Linked DNA regions of Homo sapiens: regions 2, 3, 4, 5, 6 and 7 are each linked to region 1. The links are contacts of gene promoters, found by promoter capture Hi-C in blood cells and fetal thymus (Javierre and others, 2016). All regions are on one chromosome and are shown on one strand. Each heading gives the region's core, a stretch centred on a gene start or on the middle of the fragment in contact. The rest is flanking DNA. Distances are from core to core; before and after follow the strand shown. Region 1 holds the start of KDM3A (lysine demethylase 3A). Region 2 has its middle 34 kb from the start of CD8A. Region 3 overlaps RMND5A (required for meiotic nuclear division 5 homolog A). Region 4 overlaps RMND5A (required for meiotic nuclear division 5 homolog A). Region 5 overlaps PTCD3 (pentatricopeptide repeat domain 3). Region 6 overlaps LOC105374846 (a long non-coding RNA gene). Region 7 overlaps IMMT (inner membrane mitochondrial protein).

Region 1 (3,476 bases), core at 149-2,648:
CCTGACCCACCATATACGGACAAACACCCATCCTAATACGCCAAACAGAACTTAAGCTCCTCCCTCTACACTCACTTCATTTTTAACAAGTCTGAAAGTTTTTTTAAAAGTTGAGTGAATAAATTAACAGGAACAAACAAACAAAACCAGCTGAAAGTACTTCCAAGCACTAACCTTCAATTCTTAATGACTCCAAACGTCACTTACAGGCCCTACCTAACGCTAACAAAAATACTCCTCCTCCTCTGCAGTAAAGATGAGACAGTCCTGGTGGGACACAGCACCGGCATTAATGAAGCGTGTCTGAACAACCCTAAGCCCATTATTAAAGCCAGGCAGCCAGGAGCTGTGGGCCAAACACAACTCGGCTCTATACAACCATTCCAAAGACTTTCAAGATCTAGCTTCCTGCACCTTCAGATCATATGCCAACTTTCTGGTCTCCGTTTTCAGAAAACGGAAGGAGGGAACCGATGGTCGCGTTACCACGGTAACTGCGAAACGTCCGGTGGCAGAGGCCCGGAGCCGCCTGTACCTTCAGATCCTTCTTGGTAACGTCGGTGTGGGAAACAGCTCGAATGGTCCCGGAGAGCCAGGGCCACTCGGCGACGCGCTCCACGTCCCAGCTGTCGTGGCTGCCATCGCTGCCGTCGGCTGCGGACAGACTGAGAAACCTCCTCCCCACCAATACCGGCCAACTTTCTCCGAGCGTGAGCACCATGGTTTCCACGCCTGCAGGAAGAGCTCCTCCCTGCAAAAACACAAAAACAAAATGCGACGGGGGCGGCCGGTGGGAGGGGGCCGGGCGGAGACAGCAGGGAGGGCGGGCGGAGGGCGCCGAACCCGCGCGAGGACGCGGCCCCGGGCGGACCCGCACCGAGCCCCCCTCCTGCGCCCTCCCGCCCCCCGCCGCCCTCCCCCGCCACACACCCGGGCCCCAGCGCCGCGTGACCCTCGCTCTCCCAAGTTTGGCTTTTCTAACAGCTCAAACGCAACCGCAGAGGGAGTGAGGGAAAAATTATCTGCGGCTCGAGTGGATTTGAAAGTGCTCAGCCCCCAGCCCCGAAAAGAAAAGGCCCCTGGTGCAGAGAGCCGGTCCCGGGCGGCTGGGTCCCCGCCCCGGGCGGCCCCACGGGGGAGGGTGGGCGAGCCCGCGATTCCGCACTTGCCCCGCCGCCCCGCCCCGGCGCCCAGCTCCCCGGCCCCGAACCCCGGGCGCCCGTCTCCCGGGCCTGCGCCGCTGCCAACGGGCGACGGGGCCGCGCGCTCGGCGCTTTCACCTTTCTCTCCCCTCTCCCCGCAGCCGAGGCCGCGGCGCTCTTACCCCGCCTCCCGCCTCCCTGAGTCACCGGCGGCAGCCGCCGTTTCCAGCCGCCTAGCCGACTCCAGCGCTGACTTGGTTCAAGAGCTCTCACAAGACACGCACAGCCTCCCGGACCCGCCCCCCTCGGAGCCGCTTCCGCCGCTCATTGGCTGAAACACAGGAGCTGGGCGAGGCTCCGGGGGAAACAGATCATCACCATTGGCCCCCCGGGCGAGGGCGGGGCCAGAGAAAAAAACAATTCCTTGGCTGCCTCCTCCCTTTCCCCTCCCCCTTCCGACTCCCGGGCGACCCCCATTAGGTTAAAGTACACAGAGAATAAGCGAGTGATCCCTCCGCCATAGGCCTATTCTTTCCATTTGTTGCCTCACAGTATGCAAAAAAAAAGTCCCGCGAAATCGGTTATCAACTTTGGGGCCCGGAGGAAAATTGCTGTGGCGCATAGATAAGACTGAATGGCGAGACCCTGAGCTATAAGTGCCTACTGGATTGTTCTTCAACCGCGTAGGCTGTCGACCGAAGATGAGCCTTCCACTTGGCGGAAGAATCTCACAGGAAAGGGTGAGGGCGGTGCAGGGTTAGCGGGGGAGGGCAGGGAAGAGAACGTGCGGTTTCAGGCGTACTCAGCTAGAGGGAGGAGCGATAGTGCTCTGGAGGCTCGTGCGCAGGCGCCTCGCCGAGCTTAGGCTGCTGGGCGAAATGGCTGCGGGAGGCGCAGGCGCACGTGGTACTGATCGTGGAACGTCTAAAGTCCGCCATTTTGAAGGATAAATGAAGAAAGGCGTGGAGTTACTGGATAATGACGTTCATTAAATTTAGAGCAAAAGAGACCTTTAAATACAATGTATAATGAGATTTTTTTTTCTCCAAAGTGGGATTGAGAAGGTATTCAGATACTTACAAAGAAATTTAAAGTAGTTGAAGGCCATAATGAATGATGGAAGAGATGAAAGAGAAGGTGACTTTGAAGGACAAAGGAGTTTAGAGGTGATTGTGTGCTCTGGACCTGAAGTATTTTGATTGAATGAAAAAGAAATGGAATGAAGAAATTGAAGATATGTTCATAAAGGCTAGTGTTTGACATTACATCACATTTAATCCTTAAGAAGAACTCATGCCTCCCATTTTACAAGCGTGGAAACGTATAATCAGAGAATGTTTGGAAACATATAAGGGATTATAGATGCAAATCAACTCTGGATGTTGATTTTCAATATACATATTCTGAATGTGATTTTAAGTTTTTAAAGTTAGTAACAAGAATTAAATTGGATTTATAATCTGTAGACCATTTAAAGGAAGGGGGCTGCTAAATGAGAAGAAAAAACCTATCCAGCTGAAAGAAGGCAGAAATGGGAACGAGATAAGCAAAAGAAACCAGAACATATGGTAAAAATGTTTTTCATGTGAAAAGTCCAAACATCAGTATTTACAATAAATGTAAATGGGTTAATTTCACTCACAAGTTTTAAAAGACAGTTGGGAATAAAAGGACAATCCAGCTATAAATTGACCATAAGCAAATGCTTACAAAACAGGAAGCTTGAAAATACTGGGCTAAAATATTTAATCAAATGGTAGCCAAATGAAAGCAGTATAGCAATATTAATACAATTAAAAGTATCAAAAGAGAAAGGATTTTATATTAAAGATAAAGTCCATGAAGACAGTATGGTCTCCTGAACTGTTATGAATCTAAAAACATGGCCTATCCTAAGGTGACGCTATGAACGATGAGAAATTTTACAAATTTGACAATTTGTTTTCAGAGTAGAAGACATAAATATCTCAGAAATATGCAACTCAAATGTAAAATATAAGGGAAGATATGGAGAACTTAGATTATGTAATTAAATATTAATTTGAAAAACAACTCAAGGGAAAAATTCTATTGAACCTGAAGGAACATATACTTTCTATGTTGAATTCATTATTTCAGAGCTTAGAAAAGATGGAAAGATATCCAATGCATTTTATAAAAGTTATAAAACCGTTTCACAAATTCTGAACTGGGCGAGTATAAGAAAGAAAAACTATGGTTCAATTATACTTAGGAACATAGATGGGAAATTCTTTTATAAAATACCAGCAAATTAAATCCAGCAGCATTTTTTTTAGGTAATTGATATGATTAATTAGTGTTATATGAATGCAA
Region 2 (3,088 bases), core at 412-2,911, 380 kb before region 1:
CGCTTCACACCCAGCAGCGGCACAGTAAGGTATCTATACAGGCAGGATTAAGATGGTCGTTAGGGTTCTTTCCAAGTGACAGGGCTCAGGTGATGCACCCAAGTCCATGGCCACCCTTCCTGGGTCACCGCCTCTCCCATAGGTCTTTTGTTCTCCTGGCCCCAAACCTCCACTGCTTTCTACATTGTCAGAATCGATTGGTGGTTCCTGTTTCCTTCTCACTTACCGACCTGCACATGTCACAGATTCTCAGCATATTCCATTTGCAAGAAAGCCACTGTTTTAGAGTGGCTCTCTGTTTTGTTTTGATTGTTGAGAGGAGCTCGTGGGCATTATTGCTGCATCACCCGCCACACAACTGGGGAGGTGTCACCGGCTAAACAAAAGGCAGGGGTGACGGCTCCTCACCCCTGTGGCCCAGATGGACTCCTCTGACAACCGGGGCAGAGCTAGGAAGACAATACAGACTCTCATGTTGCCTGCACAGAGCTCCCCACAAGACCACACTTCCTCCCGGGCTTTGAAGGGTACATCAATATAAGACAAATGATACGTTCTAAAAAACCGCCTGCAAACACGGGCACCTGAGCCTGCTTGGTCTGCAAATGTTTCAAGGCTCAGGGAGGCTGTCATGGATGTTTTCCCCCCGAGAGCTCCAGTGGCGGAGGTCTGCACATTCAGGTAGGAGCTCCTGTTCATGTCCGAATGGCACCCCTGTCTCCTCCTGGTGCTCTTTGGGGCAGCTGACACCATGTTGAGCATGCAGCCTGTTACAGTCAGGTAGGACAATAAAGAGTGGAGTGGCGGGCAGGAGGTGAGGCATGGGCAGTGGCCCTTTCTGAGGGGCTCCCATGCCCCCCTTAGAGCCTGCTGTTCAGACTTGGAGGTGGCAGCGAAGAACGGGTCCCAACACTTATCTTTGCTCATGTTGCCGCTGCATGCAGTTTCTGTTGGCTTCTTCGGAGAGGTGTCTAGTGCAGTTATCACCCATAGGAGCCTGAGCTGGCTGGAGCTCTGGGACATTCACCTGGCTCAGTCTTTTCCCACCTGAGAGGTGCCTGGGTGCTGCCTGCCAGGGCAGCCGTTGTCTGATTCCATCGTGATCACAGCAACCGCAAGCCAGCCACAAGCCTCTGTCTTTGTGTGCCTGGGGTTTACTGCGACCCTTGGGGATTCAAATGGGGTCAGATTGAAATGAGCAAAGAATCCTCTGAAGCCTGGACTCTTTCCCAAGGAAGTCAAAGGGAATGGCCAAGGAGGGGTTGGGGGATCCTGGAGGACGGTGATCCTCACCCTCCACTCCCACAGCCCCCATAGCCCCCCAGTAGGGGGGAGTCAGACAGAGCTGCCGCCATCCCTGGGACCACCTGCACACCTGCCCCTTTTATGTGGGGACGTTATGTAGGGCGGCCCCTCTCCAACCCCAGCAGCACACCCCCCACACCGACACCCAAGCTGCGTGGGACAGAACCAACAAGTTCACTTACCAAGGCAGATGCACCCATCACCCCTGCTCTTTTCCCAGCCTCCTCATGTGCCAGAGCTGCCTTAGGAGCTGTGGAGGAAACTCCAGGGCCCATATAAATTGCTTAGAGCTTTGGAACCCACGCAAGAGATCCATCCTCAGGAAATACTAATCTGTGCCATCATCATTATTTATTGGCATTAGTTATGTGTTCTAGAAATAACAATAGAACAACCTAAGTGGTTGACTATAAAGAGGAGTTTCAATAAGCTGTGGTCATTTACTTGGTATACAAGTATTCAAACCTTAAAAACGGTGGTTCTAAAGATTCTGGAAGCGATTCAGGGAAGGTTTATGCAATGAAGTAAAGGAAAAGCAGGATGTAGCACTGTGTTTATAGTAAGCAAGGTCGAGACAAGGCCTTGGGACAGAAGCACAAGAAAGCATCCCTGAGTGTGCTCTGGAGGGACTAGAACCTTCTTTCCACCTCTGATGGTGAGCTCTCCTCCCCTTCCCTCCACCACAAGGCCTCCCTCTCTCTTCCCTGACCCAGGGCACTGATGAAAAGCCCCCTCCCCACAGGACCCCAGGAAGGGAATGGGTTGCAGGTTTGTGCAGGGGGAGGCTTTTTCTCTTTTCATCTGCTCATTCATTCAATCACAGATTTACTCTTCATTCCCTTAGCTGCTCTTTGGCCTGGAGCACGTGGCTTCTTGCCCTTTGGCCTCCTAAAAATTAGAGGTAACAATTGCTTTCCTGTTGCATGTCCAGCACAACAGACATTGCACACACAGCCACCCAGCCCTGCACAAAGATGCAGAACAAAATGGGGGTTTCGGGCTGATTTGGCCACTTCCAGCTGTGTGCAAAGCAGCATTGATCTGAGCCTCAGCCTTGCTATCTGAGAAATGAAGCACCTCACAGTACCTGGCCCAGAAGGTCACATAGGTAAAAGTGTGGCAGAGGTTGTGCCCTGCATGAAGCATTGGCACTTGTTCCTCAGTGTTGACTGCAATCAGCCACAGCCCAGGGCCTCCTTCCCTGCTCTCAGGCCAGGCAGGGAGAAGAGGGTCCCTGCTCCAGCTCCCTGCTGCATCTAGAATGCACTCCAGCTCTCCCCAGTGCTGAGGCCTGCCATCTCCCTGCGTGTCCCCCAGCATACACACACACACACACATGCTGTACAAAGGCCCTTCCGTCCTCCAGCTCTGTGCCCCTCCTCTCTCTGCCTGGACCCCCCAGGGCTCCTCCTCAGTCTTCTCCAGGACCACTCCCCATCATCCTACAAACATGCAGCCTGTCCAGGAGGCCCTGGGGCGGTGTCTGTCACTGCACTTACAGCACTTCTCACTCTCCGTCATTCTTTCTTCTCTGTGTTTTTCTTTGTTATCTCTGTCCACTACACCGTCCCCTTGAGAGACCACATGTGCTTCTTGAGCGTTTCTTAAACCCTGCCTCGAACAGTGCCCAGCACACGTGTGGGTGCACAGTCAATATCAAATCAATGAGCAAATGAACATTATGTTTACAATGAAAACAAATCAGGGCCTTGGTCCTTATCCTCAGAGAGCTTTTTATAATGATTGTGCAGGCCGAGGCTTGTGGCTCGCTTTGTAATCTCAG
Region 3 (3,320 bases), core at 191-2,690, 340 kb before region 1:
GGCTCATTAGCAGGTCACAAAATCAAATCAGTCTTGGTGAGCATTAAAAATAAAATCACACATTTGTAGCACTAAATATTGTTTTGTAAAATATTTCAGAATTCTAAATTTTGTGTACACAGGGTTATGCTATTAAGCTTCTTACTGGGTGCTGAAGGAAAAAGAAAAGTTAAGAAAGCCTATTTTCTGCTGGGATATTGTTTATTATCAAGTTTCTCTGCTGGGGGGTAAGAAGCATCAAGCTGTTTTGTTTAAGGATGCATTTTTAGTCCTTATTTTGTCATTATGAAAATTATTTTTCATCTTTGACACTCACCTTCCCCATTTTGGTGGAGGGGGTGGAAAATGCTTTTTACCATACTGCAAATACAGTACTCCCTCAATTACCTAGATGCTTAAAGAAATACACTGATTTTTAAAATAACTAGAGTTCAAAGCACACTAAATTTAAATTTTCTTGATGACTAACAGATTTACCCTTAGTCCTCAAGGGTAAATTCTGTTCAGTACGTGTGATCTTGACCTGCCACATTTAAGAGGGAGGATACTTCCTGAAATAGGAAGCATCCAGGACACTCCTTATAAGGGAAGCCCGTTTTCTCATGACCATGCAGACTTTGGTTCAGCAGGGTTGAGCTGAGGCCTGAGATTCTGCATTTCTCACAGGCTCCCAGGTGATGCTGATGCTGCTGGTCCATGGACCACACTTTGAGTCCTGAGGAGCCCAAATGCTGGAGGGAAAGGTGGTGAGACCTTGGCCTGGCCTGCCAGGCCTCTTCTATACTACCTGGGCCACTAGCTCCAACCTGACTGGATGGGACCACAAGGGTTTCCATAGGTAAGAAACATTCTAAAATCTCAGGTAACACTAAGTCTTTCTCTTAAAAAATATACAAAAGGAGTACAAATAAGTGCTTGGTCTCTACAACCTTGGCCTGCCATGGAGGACAAGGCAATTCAGTTTCTGGTCTTCCCTGGTAATGCTGACAGCACAAGTTCTACCCCCTCCAGCAGCCTGGACATCGAGCTGTTTCCGGGCTCCACTTTACCAATCATACACTCACTGCCACTCTGGTCAGTACACAGGGCAGGGTCCCCGCTGTGCACAGGAGGGGCGAGAGGGGGCAGCAGCCTGGAAACATTAAAACAATCCCCTACTCAGAAACTCGGGACTCAGCCAGGTGCAGTGGCTCACGCCTGTAATCCCAGCACTTTGGGAGGCTGAGGTGGGCAGATCACTTGAGGGTCAGGAGTTCGAGACCAGCCTGGCCAACATGGTGAAACACTGTCTACTAAAAATAAAAAAAAATTAGCTGGGCATGGTGGCACATGCCTGTAATCCCAGCTACCCGGGAGGCTGAGGCACGAGAATCGCTTGGACCCAGGAGGTGGAGGTTGCAGTGAGCCGAGATTGGGCTACTGCACTCCAGCCCAGGCAACAGAGTGAGAGTCTGTCTCAAAACAACAACAAAAAACAACTCGGGACACTGCTCAGTCACCTTCTCTTCTCACTGTTGGTGGCACAGAAACACAGTAAGATGGGGACAGATATTTTCTTAAATTCTTGACATGCAGACCCTTAGCAAATACAGACAGCAATTTTCTCTTCTCACAGTCAGCACCTCCCTACTCCCTCCCTCATACCTTTGTCACCTGGCACATTTATACAGACTGGTTCCACAAAACACTTTTTAAATGTGCATTTCTTTAATTTTTAAAAATATACACAGGAAAAGCCATGTGTTTTACATAGGAATACACACATTAACAAAGCATTTCTTATAGTTTTCCAAAACTCTATTATATCAGTCCGAAATTTATAAATTAAATATATCAGAATTCTTAAAGTTAAAATGAATTCCCTGAAACTACTGGATATGCTACTTTTTCCAAAATCAAATGAACAGAGGATATGGATGTGGTTTGTGTTAAATAAGGTTTATTGTTAGCTTTATTGCCTATAGTCTATAAGATGCAACTTTACTGTGCCTTTGCAAACAGGATACATTTCTTAAAAAATTGATCAAAATTTTCCATACATATAGCTCTATATGATAGATTACAGTGCAACACTATTCTCGTTACATAATTATAGAAATACTATAGAACCCAAGAGCACGGGGTAAGCAAAATAAATACAATCCTGAGCCATCTGAACAAGATGATTTGATGAATCCTTTAGTGTAAGTTTAGAAAACACAGAGAAGGAAAAAAATACATGCATACTGCAGTCATGAGCAAAATACATCAAACACCTGTTCCTTGCTAGGTGCAGGTGGGGGCAATGGTGAACTTCAGACACATGCACACTCACTCACACTCCCATTTTCTTCTGCTTCCCTCCCAGCCCCAACACATTCATTCCCGCCCCTTCCCAAAAAAAAGATCAGGCACTAAATCCTAGTGAACCCCACAACTGCCTTGCTGGAGAAGGTTAAGTGACTGCTAAAGTAAGAGTGTATGTAGGTCCTCACCCATAACATGAAACAAAGCATGTGCTGTAAGCCAATTCCAGCTGCTTTTGCCTCTTTGGAAGTAAATGAAGCATATGCCCACTACAGCTTGAAACTGCAGTGGAAATGTCTTGAAAACAAAATTTTGTTTCTCTTGCTATGTCTTGAAGTAAAATCAACAGTGGAAAATTCATCCTAAAACTGCCTCATCTGCTATTAAAATACATTTGTCATTCTATTTTTGGTATCTATTCAATTATAGTTCATTAAGAACGGTTCATGAAGCTTGTACCTGCTTATGGTAAACATCAGTGTACCACACAAAACCTGCCACACCTAGACAGGCTTATGAAACACCAAATCTTCTATGTGTTCCTTGCTAACATTCCCTCAAGACCACAGCATTCTAGTGTTACCAGAGATAAAGTACGTATAGTTAAGTGATGAAAGAAAGGTATTTGGTTTGTGTCGTCACCTTATACATCCTAGTGATGAAACTAACCAAACTATGCCTCCATGCCTTCCCTGAAAATAACCTGAGTCGGCTGACGAAACAGACTGAGCAGCGTGGCTCTCAGTCCACTTTATCAGAGGTTGAGCTGGAAAACCAGAGGGCTAATGTAGTCTACCAGCAGCTTGTGCGGATAACCAAGAGTTCTTGGCTGTTGCAGTATCCACTGTCCCAAAGGCTAAGCCACTGAGGTGGAAATCAATCGCAGCATAAAGAAGACTGAACTTAAGCTGCATAACCTGCGAGACTACCTGGAGAGGACAAAAGAGGATCAGGATCCTCATTTCCCACAAAATGTGGTGTGGGTTTTAGTGTCTCTATGCATTAGCTGCTACAGAGAAGTTAACATTTACTTC
Region 4 (3,255 bases), core at 151-2,650, 320 kb before region 1:
AAAAGTCAATAGAAAAAAACGAAAAATTCATAAATAGACAATTCACAAAAAAACTCATTTTCATAGGAATATGTTCATGATATAGTGTTAAATGGGAGGAAAGTGTGATTTTCTATTTTTTATTTTTATTTTTGAGAAAGGGTTTCACTTTCGTTGCCCAGGCTGCAGTGCAGTGGTGCAGTCTCAGCTCACCACTGCAACCTCCGCCTCCCAGGCTCAAGCGATTCTCCCGCCTCAGCTTCCCAAGTAGCTGGCACCATAGGTGCACGCCACCGCACCCAGCTGTTTTGTATTTTTTTGAAGAGACAAGGTTTCACCATGTTGCCCAGGCTGGTCTCGAACTTCTGGGCTCAAGCCATCCTCCCGCCTTGGCCTCCCAAAGTGCTGGGATTACAGGTGTGAGCAATTGTGCTCAGCTTGAAAGTGTGATATATATATATGATATATATGATATATATGATATATATGATATATATGATATATATGATATATATATGATATATATATATATAAAAAAATATTTTTTTTTTTTGAGACAGAGTTTCACTCTGTTGCCCAGGCTGGAGTGCAGTGGCAAGATCTCAGCTCACTGCAACCTTCGCCTCCCAGGTTCAAGCCATTCTCCTGCCTCGGCCTCCCAAGTAGGTGGGACTACAAGCATGCACCACTGCATCCAGCTCATTTTTGCATTTTTAGTAGAGATAGGGTCTCACCATGTTGGCCAGGCTGGTCTTGAACTCCTGGCCTCAGGTGATCCACCCACCTTGGCCTCCCAAAGTGCTGGGATTACAGGCGTGAGCCACCATGCCCAGCCAAAAGAGTGATACATTTTTTAAAGTAATTTTTAGACACCAGAATGTTTAGCAGTAATGACTCTGGGATTTCAAGCATTATTTATCAACTGCTATACCATGGGCCATGACTAATCGGAACAAGGCACCAACTCTTAGATCAGCACCAGGGGTCTGAAACCACCAGGAAGACACACCAATCAATACCATATTACAGTGATTTCTGTAACAGTCTATGCTGTCCTATATTTTCCAGGTTTTCTGTAATGAACATGTATTAATTTTATACTTTAAAAGGCAGTAACTTTTTAAGCTAATGTAAAAGTAAAATTTCTTAACTTCCTTTTTTTAAATGAACAGGCCTATAGAGTAATTATAAATTACTTTTCCTGAAAGTTATGAATTATCAATTTAAGCTTTATAAGCTATAAACACCTGTACGCCACTTAACCTGGAGAGGCATTTATTTAGACAAATATAATTTTTAATGTACTAAATTTATGTTTGCACAGTTTCAAATTTTGCTATAAACAAGGCTATGAAATAAGAAAAAAACTAGCATTGCTTAATTCCTCCCCACTCCTTGCCAAGAAATATTTAGAAAAGTAAGTAGATACCTTTACAAAAAGGAACTGGGAGGAGGAGAGGACAACACAAAACCCAAATTCATAGAATACAAGTTTTCAAATTTCTTAAAAGTCGTATTTCTTTGCATCCTATTCTGAAACAATACTGTCCTCATTTAACTTCTTAATACTATATTAAGACTAAATTGTACAAGGCAAGGGACTTCCAAGCTTCTCCCTCCCTGGCAAAATGTCATTTTCTAAACCAAGGATGAGATACCCCACTTTTAACTCTCCCAAACATTGAAGCACATGTAAGCAATTAAGGTGAAATCCTCACCTGACATGATAGGACCTCTCTCTTATACCTCCAGGATTGTACCCAGAAACCCACATTTGTATTTTCTTGACCTCAATTCCCTGGCCACAGTTAACTGGCCAAATAAGCATAGGTTTTATTCAAAGTCACTCTCCGCAGCTGCCTCCTAATAAGAAAGTCAATCTATTTTTAACTCTATTCACTATTCTTCACTATTCTATGCCTCTTGCTAAGCTCTGGTATCAAGAGTTGCCTTCTGTGATGATCATTGTTAACATCCGCCTTAATGAATCCTTGACATCTGAGTACAAATTTCACAGCAGCATCCTTACTCACAATAGCAGCTTCCTCAGATAGCTTTAGTCAATTCACAACTTCTGAACATGATAAAAGCATCTTTTACTGGCTGTGAAGTTCTTCAATATCCTTGTAATTACCATCTTCTTTCAATAAGGCAACTATTATCAATTTGGCCCGAATAGTAGCCAAACTGATTCACACACACACACACACACACACACACACACACACACACTTCTCTCTCTCAATCCAAAGTAGAAGTAAATGTTCCATCTAAACCACAAGCATCTTTCTATTCTAGTGCAATATAAGTGAAAAGATGGTGAAGTGACTTTACCCTCGTCTTTATAGTGACAGGACTTTTCCAATATGCTTTGTACCATTAGCTTCCTGTAGGCTTAGGTCTTGCCCTAGCTTCATCTTGCTGTTGTCCTTTTTCAAATCTTTCTAATCACATTCAATTTCACTTCTAGAGGTTTTTCTTGTTGCCAAGTCCGTCTTCCAATTATCCATTTTTGTAAAATGTCACGTGGGTTTATCCCTGGGAGTTAAAGAGGTGACACAACCCACACAGCTGTTGCCTGAGAGTAACTGACAGTAGATGTGCAGTGATCAAGAGCGAAGTGACAAAACTGGTCATGACCATGATGCTCCTGTTATGTCCAGATGTGTAGACTGAAGAGCTGGCAGAGAAGTCTGTATTTTATACAATTGCTCACAGTTAATACATCATGGTGACTGAAATCTGAACTGTGTTGTTGGCAGCCAGGTGTTATTTAACTAAACTGTGGTAAAAACGAATTTATGTATGTTAGAAACCTGCAAAGACTGCCCATAGGTTCAATAAAGAATACAAGGGCTGGGTGCAGTGGCTTAGGCCTGTAATCCCAGCACTTTGGGAGGCCGAGGTGGGTGGACCACCTGATGCTGGGAGTTTGAGGCCAGCCTGATGAACATGGAGAAACCCCATCTCTACTGAAAATACAAAATTAGTCGGGTGTGGTGGCGCATGCCTGTAATCCCAGCTACTCAGGAGGCTGAGGCAGGAGAATCGCTTGAACTCGGGAGGCAGAGGTTGTGGTGAGCCAAGATTGCGCCATTGCACTCCAGCCTGGGCAACAAGAGTGAAACTCCGTCTCAAAAAAAAAAGAATACAAACAGGAGAGAAAGGACACAGAGATCTCAGTGGTAAGAGGTTACTTTATAAAGACAAAGAAGTTCCAGACTGATATAATGAGGAAAGACATAAAGTTTGAGAACCTGAGCAAGTCAGGGTGTC
Region 5 (3,305 bases), core at 732-3,231, 310 kb after region 1:
ATGGAAATGTTCTGAATCTGCATCACGACACATGGTAGCCACTAGACACATGGCTACTGAGCACCAATGTGACAAAATAATTTATTATTTTACTTAATTTTAATTAACTGGCCACATGTGGCTAGTGGCTATGGTGTTAAATAGCACAGCTCCAGAGAACAAAAGGAATTTCAACCAAAATATATTCTACCCAATTCCTGTTTGTACAACATCACTGCCAGTACAATCCATAACCCTCTCCCCTCCAGCTCAAGTTTTAGACCACAAACAAGATTGCTACCCTCAAGAATAATTTTAGGTAGTAAGACCCTGTCCAAAAAAAAAAAAAAAAAATCAGCTAGGCATGCTGGTGGGCATCTGTAATCCTAACTACTCAGGAGGCTGAGGAGGGAGGACTGTTTGAGCCCAGGAGTTCAAGGCTGCAATGGGCAAGATCCTGTATCTAAAAAAACCACAACTTTCTGCTCAGGCTGTACAGGTTAATTTACAAATTCTCTCTTCTTAATTCATATGCAGAGAAGATAACTACAACAATTAATCACATAAACTCAAGAAAGCTGGTCAATTTTCTATATAAATTAACACAATTTAAGGCCATACATACCAGGTTGATCAAACAGGCGAATAATATGGTGATATGTTGCAAGCGAGGGTTCTCAAATTACCAGGTAGACAGAAAAAATAAACAATGAGGTAAAAACACAGCAATCCAAAACATAGTTTACTGAGACACACTGAATTAAAAACATATTGTTAATATTTAAGCAAAATATGCATTTCTATTCCTTTGAACAAAGTTATTTTCCAACTCATTAATGTAAAGGTAAAAAACTATCACAAAGACTGTATCACTTTTTGAAAGTCCAAATACTTATTAGTCACATTCTTCACTGAGAACAGTAAAATATATTGAAGTGAATTGATTCCCAAAGCAACTTTCAATAAAGTAATTAATGAAAAATATACAATACACTAGCACACACTTAGGTTCAAATACCTAATTATGTTGGGAAAATGTCATGAATTTAAAACTAGCTAACTCAAAGCAATCACTTCTCCTCAGATTCAACAGATCCATAAACAAAGTACCTAAAATACTAATGAACACTAAGATGATAAAGGCACTCCCACTATAATAAGTACATGTAAGTAAATGTGCCAAACATGGAAAGAAAATTTCCAACATATTATGTAAGCACAAGAATAATTTAAAGCTCTTTGCTTATGTAGCCCTGAAACCTCTGGCTGGCACAGTCTCTGTCCTCAGAGAACTCAAGGGCGCATCCTCACCTATTCCAATGGCTTTCATTTCACGTAAAACCTGTAAGGCTGGCGATCTTGCAAACACATGAAATCTTCGGAGACATTTCAGAATGGTATTAAAAGTCTGAAGATTTGGTTTCACCTTCTGTGCAACCATGTGTCTTAGCAGCTCCTAGGTGAATAAAAAACAAGAAGTATCTTTCATGCCTGGGTAATCTGTCCAATAATCTATGTTTCATACAAAGTAAAGAATTTAGCTTTCTTGCTTATGTTTAAAGCAGGTTAGTAACTATATCCCTCTTTTAAGAACTGTTTATTAATTAGCAGGTTCCATGATTCTGCCTTTTAAAGAAGCCTGCTAATTCAAACACCCACCCCACTTGATAGAGGTGGTCAACTGTCTTCAGTCTTCTACCTAGGAGAGTTTTCCAAGAAAAGACGCAAAAATAATAGACTAGTATGATATAAAAAAGTGGTTGGTTTTTTTTTTTTTTTGAGACAAAGTTTCGCTCTTCTTGCCCAGGCTGGAGTGCAGTGGTGCGATCTTGGCTCACTGCAACCTCTGCCTCGTGGGCTGAGGTGATTCTCCTGCCTCAGCCTCCTGAGTAGCTGCGACTACAGGCGAGCACCACTATGCCCGGCTAATTTTTGTATTTTTGTAGTAGAGACGGGGTTTCACCATGTTAGTCAGGCTGGTCACAAACTCCTGACCTAAGGTAATCCACCCGCCTCAGCCTCAAAGTGCTGGGATTATAGGCATGAGCCACCGTGCCCAGCCGTTTCTATTCTTAAGTTACTAGGCGAGAATCAATCCAGTGATTTCAACTTTTTGAAATTACACCTGATAGGATTTGACAGCAAATATGCATTACTTTGTAACAGAAAAACTATTATGAAAAATAAATGAATAAAATGGTCCAGAATTCTAGCTCTATACTCTCGGTCAAGCAACTTTTTCTTCTTATGTGCCAGACACAGCTGAGTCCCAGGGCTGCGGAAAGGGTAGTGAACAGGTAACTGCTACACAGTGACTGCCATACACATGCTCATAAATGCTGTCTCCAGCCCATGTACTTCTGTTTCTTTTTCTTTTTTTTTTTTTTGAGACGGAGTCTTGCTCTGTTGCCCAGGCTGGAGTGCAGTGGTGCGATCTCTGCTCACAGCAACCTCCGCCTCCCGGGTTCAATAGATTCTCTTGCCTCAGCTTCCCAAGTAGCTGGGATTACAGGCGTGCACCACCACGCCCAGCTAATTGTTTGTACTTTTAGTAGAGACGGGTTTCACCATGTTGGCCAGGCTGGTCTCCAACTCCTGGCCTCAGGTGATCTGCCCGCCTCGGCCTCCCAAAGTGCTGGTATTACAGGTTTGAGCCACCACACCTGGCCAGCCCATGTATTTCTGGTAAAGAGTATTTAAGCCCTATTAAAAAATAAACTGAGGATTCCTCCTTACCAGTATTTTACTCCATTTTTCCTCAAATTTCTCATTTATCGCACATACTGTTGCTTCAATCAATGCATTAAATGTGTATACATCAGCTGTAAAATAATAAAATGATAAAATTTGGGGTTGAAGATTAATCCCTAAATGGCTGAGTTTAAGGCAAAGCAGTCATTCCTATGTGTCCCTTGACTAATCACATGTCCACAAAACTGGAAAACTACTCTCCTCTCTGGATCTCTACTCTTGCTTCAATCATCTACGCCTCAGGAAAAGGTAAAGTGTAGGCCAATGACTGAGGCACGATCCAAAGCCTTCACACAGACAATTAAAAGAAGGAAATGGAGAAAGGGACAGAGGGGAGTTCTCAAACTCACCATGGAGTCTGTTGTTTAGTAACTCAGTGTACAAGTTTAATGCCTGCTCATAAGCTCGGTGCTGGAAAAGGAAAAATTAAGCATCATCAAATTCATTTACTTAAGAAGTCCTTGCACATTTCTGTCCTAGAGTTTGGTAATATAGCTCAGGCTCAATAGATCAGGCTCCTGTTCTCATGAAGCTCATACTCTAGTGCAGTGGGATTTTCTATCCACTGGTAATGC
Region 6 (3,124 bases), core at 350-2,849, 360 kb before region 1:
AACTCCTCCACAGCTGGTGTGAGTGTGGACTGGAACCATGACTTCGGAGAAAAATGTATCAAAAGCTATGGGACACATCTTTCGAATCAGTCATTTCTCACAAGGTTGCCATACTCCTCAAGTCATTCCTTTTCCAGGAAAACACCCTAGAGAAAATCTTGTACTTGGACTCTAGGGAATGTGTACAAGGATGTCCATTGTAGTTTAGCTTATAACAGCAAAACCCAGCCCAAAAGTACATCAACAAAGGAATGAATAAATGAAAGTGGCAGTTGTCATTAAACCTTTTTCCTTTTCTTGTATCACCCCAAAGTATGAAAGACTATGGACTCCTTCACTCATTAAAAAAAAAAATTTAGGCCAGGTGTGGTGGCTCATGCCTGTAATCCCAACACTTAGGAAGGCTTAGGCAGGTGGATCACTTGAGGTCAGGAGTTCGAGACCAGTCTGGCCAACATGGCAAAACTCTGTCTCTACTACAAATACAAAAATTAGCCAGGCATGGTGGCGTGTGCCTGTAATCCCAGCTACTCAGGAAGCTGAAGTAGGAAAATCATTTAAGCCCAGGAGGTGGAGCTTGCAGCGAGCTGAGATCGCACCACTGCACTCCAGCCTGGGTGACAGAGCGAGACTCTGTCTCAAAAAAAAAAAAAAAAAAAAAAAAAAGATTTAGCAAGGAACAGTGAATGGCTCACCCCTGTAATCTCAGCACTTTGGGAGGCTGAGGCAGGAGGACTGCTTGAGGCCAGGAGTTGGGGGCTCAAGAGTTGGAGGCTGCAGTGAGCTGTTATCACACCAATGCACTCAACCTGGTTGACAGAGCTAGACTCTGTCTCTAAAAAAAATAATAATACTAATTTATTGTGGCAAAATACACATAACAATCTTACCATTTTAACATTTAAGTGTACAGTTCAGTGGTATTAAGTTCATGCACATTGTTGTGCAACCTTCACCACCATCCTTCTCTCTAACTCTTTTCATCTAGAAAAACTAAAACTCTATAACCGTTAAACATAACTCCCACTCCTCCCTCTCCCCAGCCTGTCCCAACCACCATTCTACTTTCTGTCTCTATTATTTTGACTACTTTAAATACCTCAAATACATAGAATCATACAGTATTTGGTTTTTTGTGACTGGCTTAATTCACTTAGCATAATATCCTCAAGATTCATCCATATTGTGGCATGTGTCAGAACTTCCTTTTTAAGGCTGAATAATATTCCACTCTATGTATATACCACATTTTGTTTGTTTAAATAAATTTTATTGTGTATATATAAGGTATATACAACATCATGGTATAAGACACACATATTTAGTAGAATGGATACTATAGTGAAACAAATTGACTTATGCATCATCTCACTTAGTTACCCATTTATTTCCTCCTGTAGCAAAAGCAACTATGCTCATCTAGCAAAAATCCTGGAATAATATGCTATTATTAATTGTAGTCTTCATATTGTACTTTATTTGACTTGTTCATCCTATATGTTTGCTACTTCGTATCCTTAGGCCTACATCTGCCCATTTCCTCTCTCCTACTCCAATCTTGATAACCACTGTTTTATTCTCTATATATTTGACCTTTTTAAAAGATTCCACAGGCCAGGCATGGTAGCTCACACCTGTAATCCCAGCACTTTGGGAGGCCAAGGCAGGTGGATCATCTGAGGTCAGGAGTTTGAGACCAGCCTGGCCAACATGGCAAAACCCCATATCTACTAAAAATACAATTAGCCAGGTGTGGTGGCAGGTGCCTGTAGTCCCAGCTACTCAGGAGGCTGAGGCAGGAGAATTACTTGAACCCAGGAGGCAGAGGTTGCGGTGAGCCAAAATTGCGCCACTGCACTCCAGCGTGGGCAACAGAGTGAGACTCCGTCTAAGAAAATAAATAAATAAAAGATTCCACATACAGGTAAGATCGTGCAATATTTTTTTTCTGTGTCTGGCTTCTTTCATTTAGCATAATGTCCTCCAGGCCCGTCTAGGTTATGGCAAATGCTATCTCCTCCTTTTTTAAGGCTGAATTCCCTTGTATATATCCGTACCACAATTTCTTAAACCATTCGTCCATTGATGGTTGTCTAGGTTGTCTCCATATCTTGGTTATTATGAATAATGCTACAATAAACACAGGAGTACAGATACCTTGGTGAGGTGGTGATTTCATTTCCTTTGGGTATGAGCCCAGAAGAGAGATGCCTGAGTCCACATTTTGTTTATCTATTCATCCAGTAATAAACACTTGGGTTGCTACCACATTTTAGCTACTGTGAAAAATGCTGTTATAAAATGAATGTACTTCTTTACTCACTTTTAACTTGACATCAAACATTTTTCATCACTATAAAGGACATAATTTCCAAAGTAAATGTTGATTTTTAAAAAAGAAAACCTTATTCTTTTTAATTATTTCTAATAGCACATAAATAATATATCAATTTTGTTTCAACCGTCACTCATTTTTAAAATACAAGAAAAAGTTCTTAACTTTTGGAAATTTTTCATCACTCCTTTTTCTCCTTAAACTTATGAATTCTAGGCCAGGCGCGATGGTTCACACCTGTAATCCCAGCATTTTGGGAAGCCAAGGCAGGCAGATCACTTGAGGCCAAGAGTTCAAGACCAACCTGGCCAAAGGGGTGAAATCCCATCTCTACTAAAAATACAAAAATTAGTCGGGTGTGGTGGTGCACACCTGAGTAGCAATCCCAGCTACTCAGGTGGCTGAGACACGAGAATCACTTGAACCAAGGAGGCAGAGGTTGCAGTGAGTGGAGATTGTGCCACTGCGGTCCAGCCTGGGCGGCAGAGTGAGACTCTGTCTCAAAAAAATAAAGAGTAAAAACAAATGGACTTATGAATTCTATTCTACTTCCTCCATAAAAGTTTAATAGGTGCATATGCTTAAGGACCTTATATTGATCAATATTTCATACTTCTCTGCCAAAAAAGCACATGAGATGAATTTTTAATTTCCTGCAACCATAAGTTTCTAAATATTAAAAGTCTTAGATTATGTCATCATTGCGACTATTAATAGTGCACAATTGTCCTTTATAGCATAAATAAACTGCAAGTCTTCAAAATTAATGAACATTAAAAGTAACCTTTG
Region 7 (3,312 bases), core at 604-3,103, 290 kb after region 1:
TAAGTTCTGGATTTCAGGTAATCAGTGTTAAGTAATTTGTAAAGTGACCTATGGCTATTTGTTAGGCAAGGTATATTTTTTGGTTTTTTTTGGCCCATGTTGAATTTAAATTCATTTAAAAATAAGCAGTTTTCTTTGTTTAGAAGTCTATGTCAAGTCTATGTCAATAACTACCAGATACTTACTAATTTTCTTTTCTTTTTTCTTTTTGAGATGGAGTCTTGCTCTGTCGCCCAGGCTGGAGTGCAGCAGCGCAATCTTGGCTCACGGCAAGCTCTGCCTCCTCGGTTCACGCCATTCTCCTGCCTCAGCCTCCCGAGTAGCTGGGACTACAGGCACCCGCCACCACACCCGGCTAATTTTTTTTTTGTATTTTTAGTAGAGATGGGGTTTCACCATTTTAGTCAGGATAGTCTCAATCTCCTGACCTCATGAGCCACCTGCCTCAGCCTCCCAAAGTGCTGGGATTACAGGTGTGAGCCACCACGCCCGGCCAACTAATTTTCTTAATGATTCTTCAAAGTAGGCATTATTACTCACAAATGAGAAAGTGGAGATTTGAGAAGATAAATCATTTCCCCAAGGTCACACAGATGGTTGTAGTAAAGCTACGCTTGATTCCAAGTATATAGTTACTTTTTTTCATATCCTGGATTTAGTTATTTCTCAGAGGAGCATGTGATTCAGGAAATGGCAGTGTTTTATATGAGAGGCAGCCTGGTGATGTGGAAAAACCACAAGTTTGGGGGTGAGAGAGACCTTTGTTTGAAATCTGGTTTTTGCCACAGCTGTGTGATCTTGTTTGAATCACCTTCCAGGGTTTAGTTTTCCGTTTCACATGAGAAGTAGAAGTGTACACATGCCTGGCACATTAGAGGCGTTCAGGATATGGAAGCTGCTGTTGTCATGGTTGATAGTGGTCTTTCTGTTTTCCTAAAAGTATATGTGGAGAATTGAAAACTAATAACTACTATGTTTGGTTTCACAGATAGAAGAAGTCAGAGATGCCATGGAAAATGAAATGAGAACCCAGCTTCGCCGACAGGCAGCTGCCCACACTGATCACTTGCGAGATGTCCTTAGGGTACAAGAACAGGAATTGAAGTCTGAATTTGAGCAGGTGAGGACCTGGACTCCCTTCAGCCACACCCCTCTTCCTGACAGGATTAAGAGACTCTCCTTTCCTTTTAATGTACTCTGAGGATGTCGAAGATTTGGAAATCTCCTTGTATGTCTACAAAACTGCTTCTTTTTACATAATGGTGTACCTGTGTGTTCATGATCAGATGTGTTTTTAAAATATATATTCTAGTCATTTGGAATCTTCAGAGCTTTAAGGAGAGTTGGTAAAGGGGATTTCAGGAATGCAGACAGTAATATTTGACATGTGTATCTTCCTCCTATAGATGGCATGGTACTGCTTAGATTTTTATAACTGAGGTAATTTCCCAGAGAAGTTTTGAAATCCCAGTAAATTATCAGGATGCCTGTAATCATAGTTTCTATTCAAGAAATCATTTACAGTAATATTAACTTGTTACTTTGTCTTGCAAGAAGATATTGAGGTTTTCTAAGTAAAATCTTCCAGAGAATCGCGATGTATGTCAGTATGAAAAGGTATTTTAAATTCTATTTGGATATTTTTCTGAGAAAAATTAATGTATAAGCTCTTAAATACAAGATATTAGAATATAATTTAATCTAATTATTATGTTTAGGTTTGCAGTACAGATAATTTACTTTCTAAAGCTGACAATTTGTGGCTGAGCACAGTGGCTAACACCTATAATCCCAGCAATTTGGGAGGCTGAGGCGGGTGGATCGCTTGAGGACAAGAGTTCAAGACCAGCCTGCCCAACATGGCGAAACCCTGTCTCTATTAAAAATACAAAAATTACCTGGGCATGGTGGTGCATGCATGTAATCCCAGCCACTCCGGAGGCTGAGGCATGAGAATCGTTTGAATCTGGGAGGTGGAGGTTGCAGTGAGCTGAGGTTGTGCCACTGCACTCCAGCCTGGATGACAGAGCAAGATTCTGTCTCAAAAATAAAATACAGTTGGCAGTTTGTTTCTGACTTTAACAGCCTTCTCTCTTCTCTTGGTATGCCTCCTCTAATATTAGGTTCCATCAGTAAACCTGTAAAGAATTATATACATCGGCCGGGCACGGTGGCTCACGCCTGTAATCCCAGCACTTTGGGAGGCCGAGGTGGGCGGATCACGAGGTTAAGAGATCGAGACCATCCTGGCCAACATGGTGAAACCCATCTCTACTAAAAATACAATAATTGGCATGGTGATGCATGCCTGTAATCCCAGCTACTTGGGAGGCTGAGGCAGGAGAATCACTTGAATCTGGGAGGCGGAGGTTGCAGTGAGCCAAGATTGTGCCACTGCACTCCAACCTGGCAATAAAGCAAGATTCCATCTCAAAAAAAAAAAAAATATATTATATACATCAAATATGAGTCAGGACATTTTTGAAACTTTACACAAAATGTAGGAATTTCGTGACAACTCTAAGGCCCTCTTTGCTTCAGCAAGTAGTTGCTGGAAGATTACACAGTTACATGACATGCATTGAGTATCACTTTTTTCTGGAACTATTTCTGTTTTATTTCAGAACCTGTCTGAGAAACTCTCTGAACAAGAATTACAATTTCGTCGTCTCAGTCAAGAGCAAGTTGACAACTTTACTCTGGATATAAATACTGCCTATGCCAGACTCAGAGGAATCGAACAGGCTGTTCAGAGTAAGCATAAGCTATGTTTATCTTACAGATAATTTTCCTCAGCATAATTTATCAAAATAATTTTATAGGGAAAATGGGGTACATGTACTGACATCAGGACATAAAAATACTAATCACTCTACTTAATTGCAGTTTTTGCCATTAAAAGTAATGGCAAAATCTATATAACTAGAAATTTATACCTTGTATGACAAACACAAAATCACCATTTACAAGGCTATTTACCCAGTATCCTTTGGCTATGTCGCATGTGCCTGGGTGGTAAGGGCTAGGGGTCAGTGTGGTCCCATGCTTGCCTTCCACAGACTTGGTGGGTTATCTGGAGGTGGTGATTTGCCGAGTCCAACTACCAAATGGACAGTATTTATGCTGAGGCCTCCATGTGCCACATTGAAAGAGAAATGTCATGACAATGAGGGTATTAATAAAATGGGTTTTTTTAGGATGTTATGGAATCTTTTTTTGTCACATAACAATAAAAATAAATTCAATACTCATGGAATTTCAAGATCCAGTAGTCTGTTAAGTTCGTTTGAAGTCTCCCATTTCTTTTTTTTT

The links. Contacts are between HindIII fragments. The CHiCAGO score rates a contact against its expected background, and 5 or more counts as called.
Region 2: a contact is called between a fragment that was not itself captured here and the fragment with the promoter of KDM3A in region 1, in 1 of 17 cell types (fetal thymus). The highest score is 6.3, in fetal thymus.
Region 3: a fragment that was not itself captured here is called in contact with the fragment with the promoter of KDM3A in region 1 in 4 of 17 cell types (fetal thymus, naive CD8 T cells, endothelial precursors and 1 more); the score reaches 7.2 in fetal thymus.
Region 4: a fragment that was not itself captured here is called in contact with the fragment with the promoter of KDM3A in region 1 in 1 of 17 cell types (M2 macrophages); the score reaches 5.1 in M2 macrophages.
Region 5: a contact is called between a fragment that was not itself captured here and the fragment with the promoter of KDM3A in region 1, in 1 of 17 cell types (M2 macrophages). The highest score is 5.1, in M2 macrophages.
Region 6: a contact is called between a fragment that was not itself captured here and the fragment with the promoter of KDM3A in region 1, in 2 of 17 cell types (fetal thymus and total CD8 T cells). The highest score is 6.8, in fetal thymus.
Region 7: a contact is called between a fragment that was not itself captured here and the fragment with the promoter of KDM3A in region 1, in 1 of 17 cell types (M2 macrophages). The highest score is 5.1, in M2 macrophages.

Annotation. Positions count from the first base shown.
Region 1 is chr2:86,439,293-86,442,768 of GRCh38, reverse strand. KDM3A (lysine demethylase 3A) reads right to left here and starts at 1,398. Exons shown (of 26, transcript NM_018433.6): 1 at 1,325-1,398; 2 at 536-751. The coding sequence starts at 721. RefSeq lists enhancers at 555-614, 1,605-1,684, 1,765-1,964, 1,786-2,329 and silencers at 815-864, 1,085-1,474. The HindIII fragment of the contact is 3,261 bases long and covers 1-2,865 here.
Region 2 is chr2:86,823,546-86,826,633 of GRCh38, reverse strand. It overlaps a transcript of CD8B not described here. Among named protein-coding and RNA genes, the nearest start is that of CD8A, 34 kb to the right of the region's middle. The HindIII fragment of the contact is 4,501 bases long and covers 1-3,088 here.
Region 3 is chr2:86,776,407-86,779,726 of GRCh38, reverse strand. RMND5A (required for meiotic nuclear division 5 homolog A) reads right to left here. Exons shown (of 9, transcript NM_022780.4): 9 at 1,686-3,320. Among named protein-coding and RNA genes, the nearest start is that of CD8A, 13 kb to the left of the region's middle. The HindIII fragment of the contact is 2,601 bases long and covers 140-2,740 here.
Region 4 is chr2:86,759,922-86,763,176 of GRCh38, reverse strand. The region is part of intron 4 of RMND5A (required for meiotic nuclear division 5 homolog A); the gene reads right to left. Among named protein-coding and RNA genes, the nearest start is that of CD8A, 29 kb to the left of the region's middle. The HindIII fragment of the contact is 381 bases long and covers 1,210-1,590 here.
Region 5 is chr2:86,125,291-86,128,595 of GRCh38, reverse strand. It overlaps PTCD3 (pentatricopeptide repeat domain 3), which reads right to left. Exons shown (of 24, transcript NM_017952.6): 11 at 3,081-3,141; 12 at 2,716-2,801; 13 at 1,291-1,435; 14 at 605-655. Among named protein-coding and RNA genes, the nearest start is that of SNORD94, 8.9 kb to the left of the region's middle. The HindIII fragment of the contact is 9,969 bases long and covers 1-3,305 here.
Region 6 is chr2:86,802,337-86,805,460 of GRCh38, reverse strand. All of the region lies in intron 1 of LOC105374846 (a long non-coding RNA gene), which reads right to left. It also overlaps a transcript of CD8A not described here. Among named protein-coding and RNA genes, the nearest start is that of CD8A, 13 kb to the right of the region's middle. The HindIII fragment of the contact is 3,855 bases long and covers 1-3,124 here.
Region 7 is chr2:86,145,510-86,148,821 of GRCh38, reverse strand. IMMT (inner membrane mitochondrial protein) reads left to right here. Exons shown (of 15, transcript NM_006839.3): 13 at 989-1,120; 14 at 2,625-2,754. Among named protein-coding and RNA genes, the nearest start is that of SNORD94, 11 kb to the right of the region's middle. The HindIII fragment of the contact is 4,515 bases long and covers 1-3,312 here.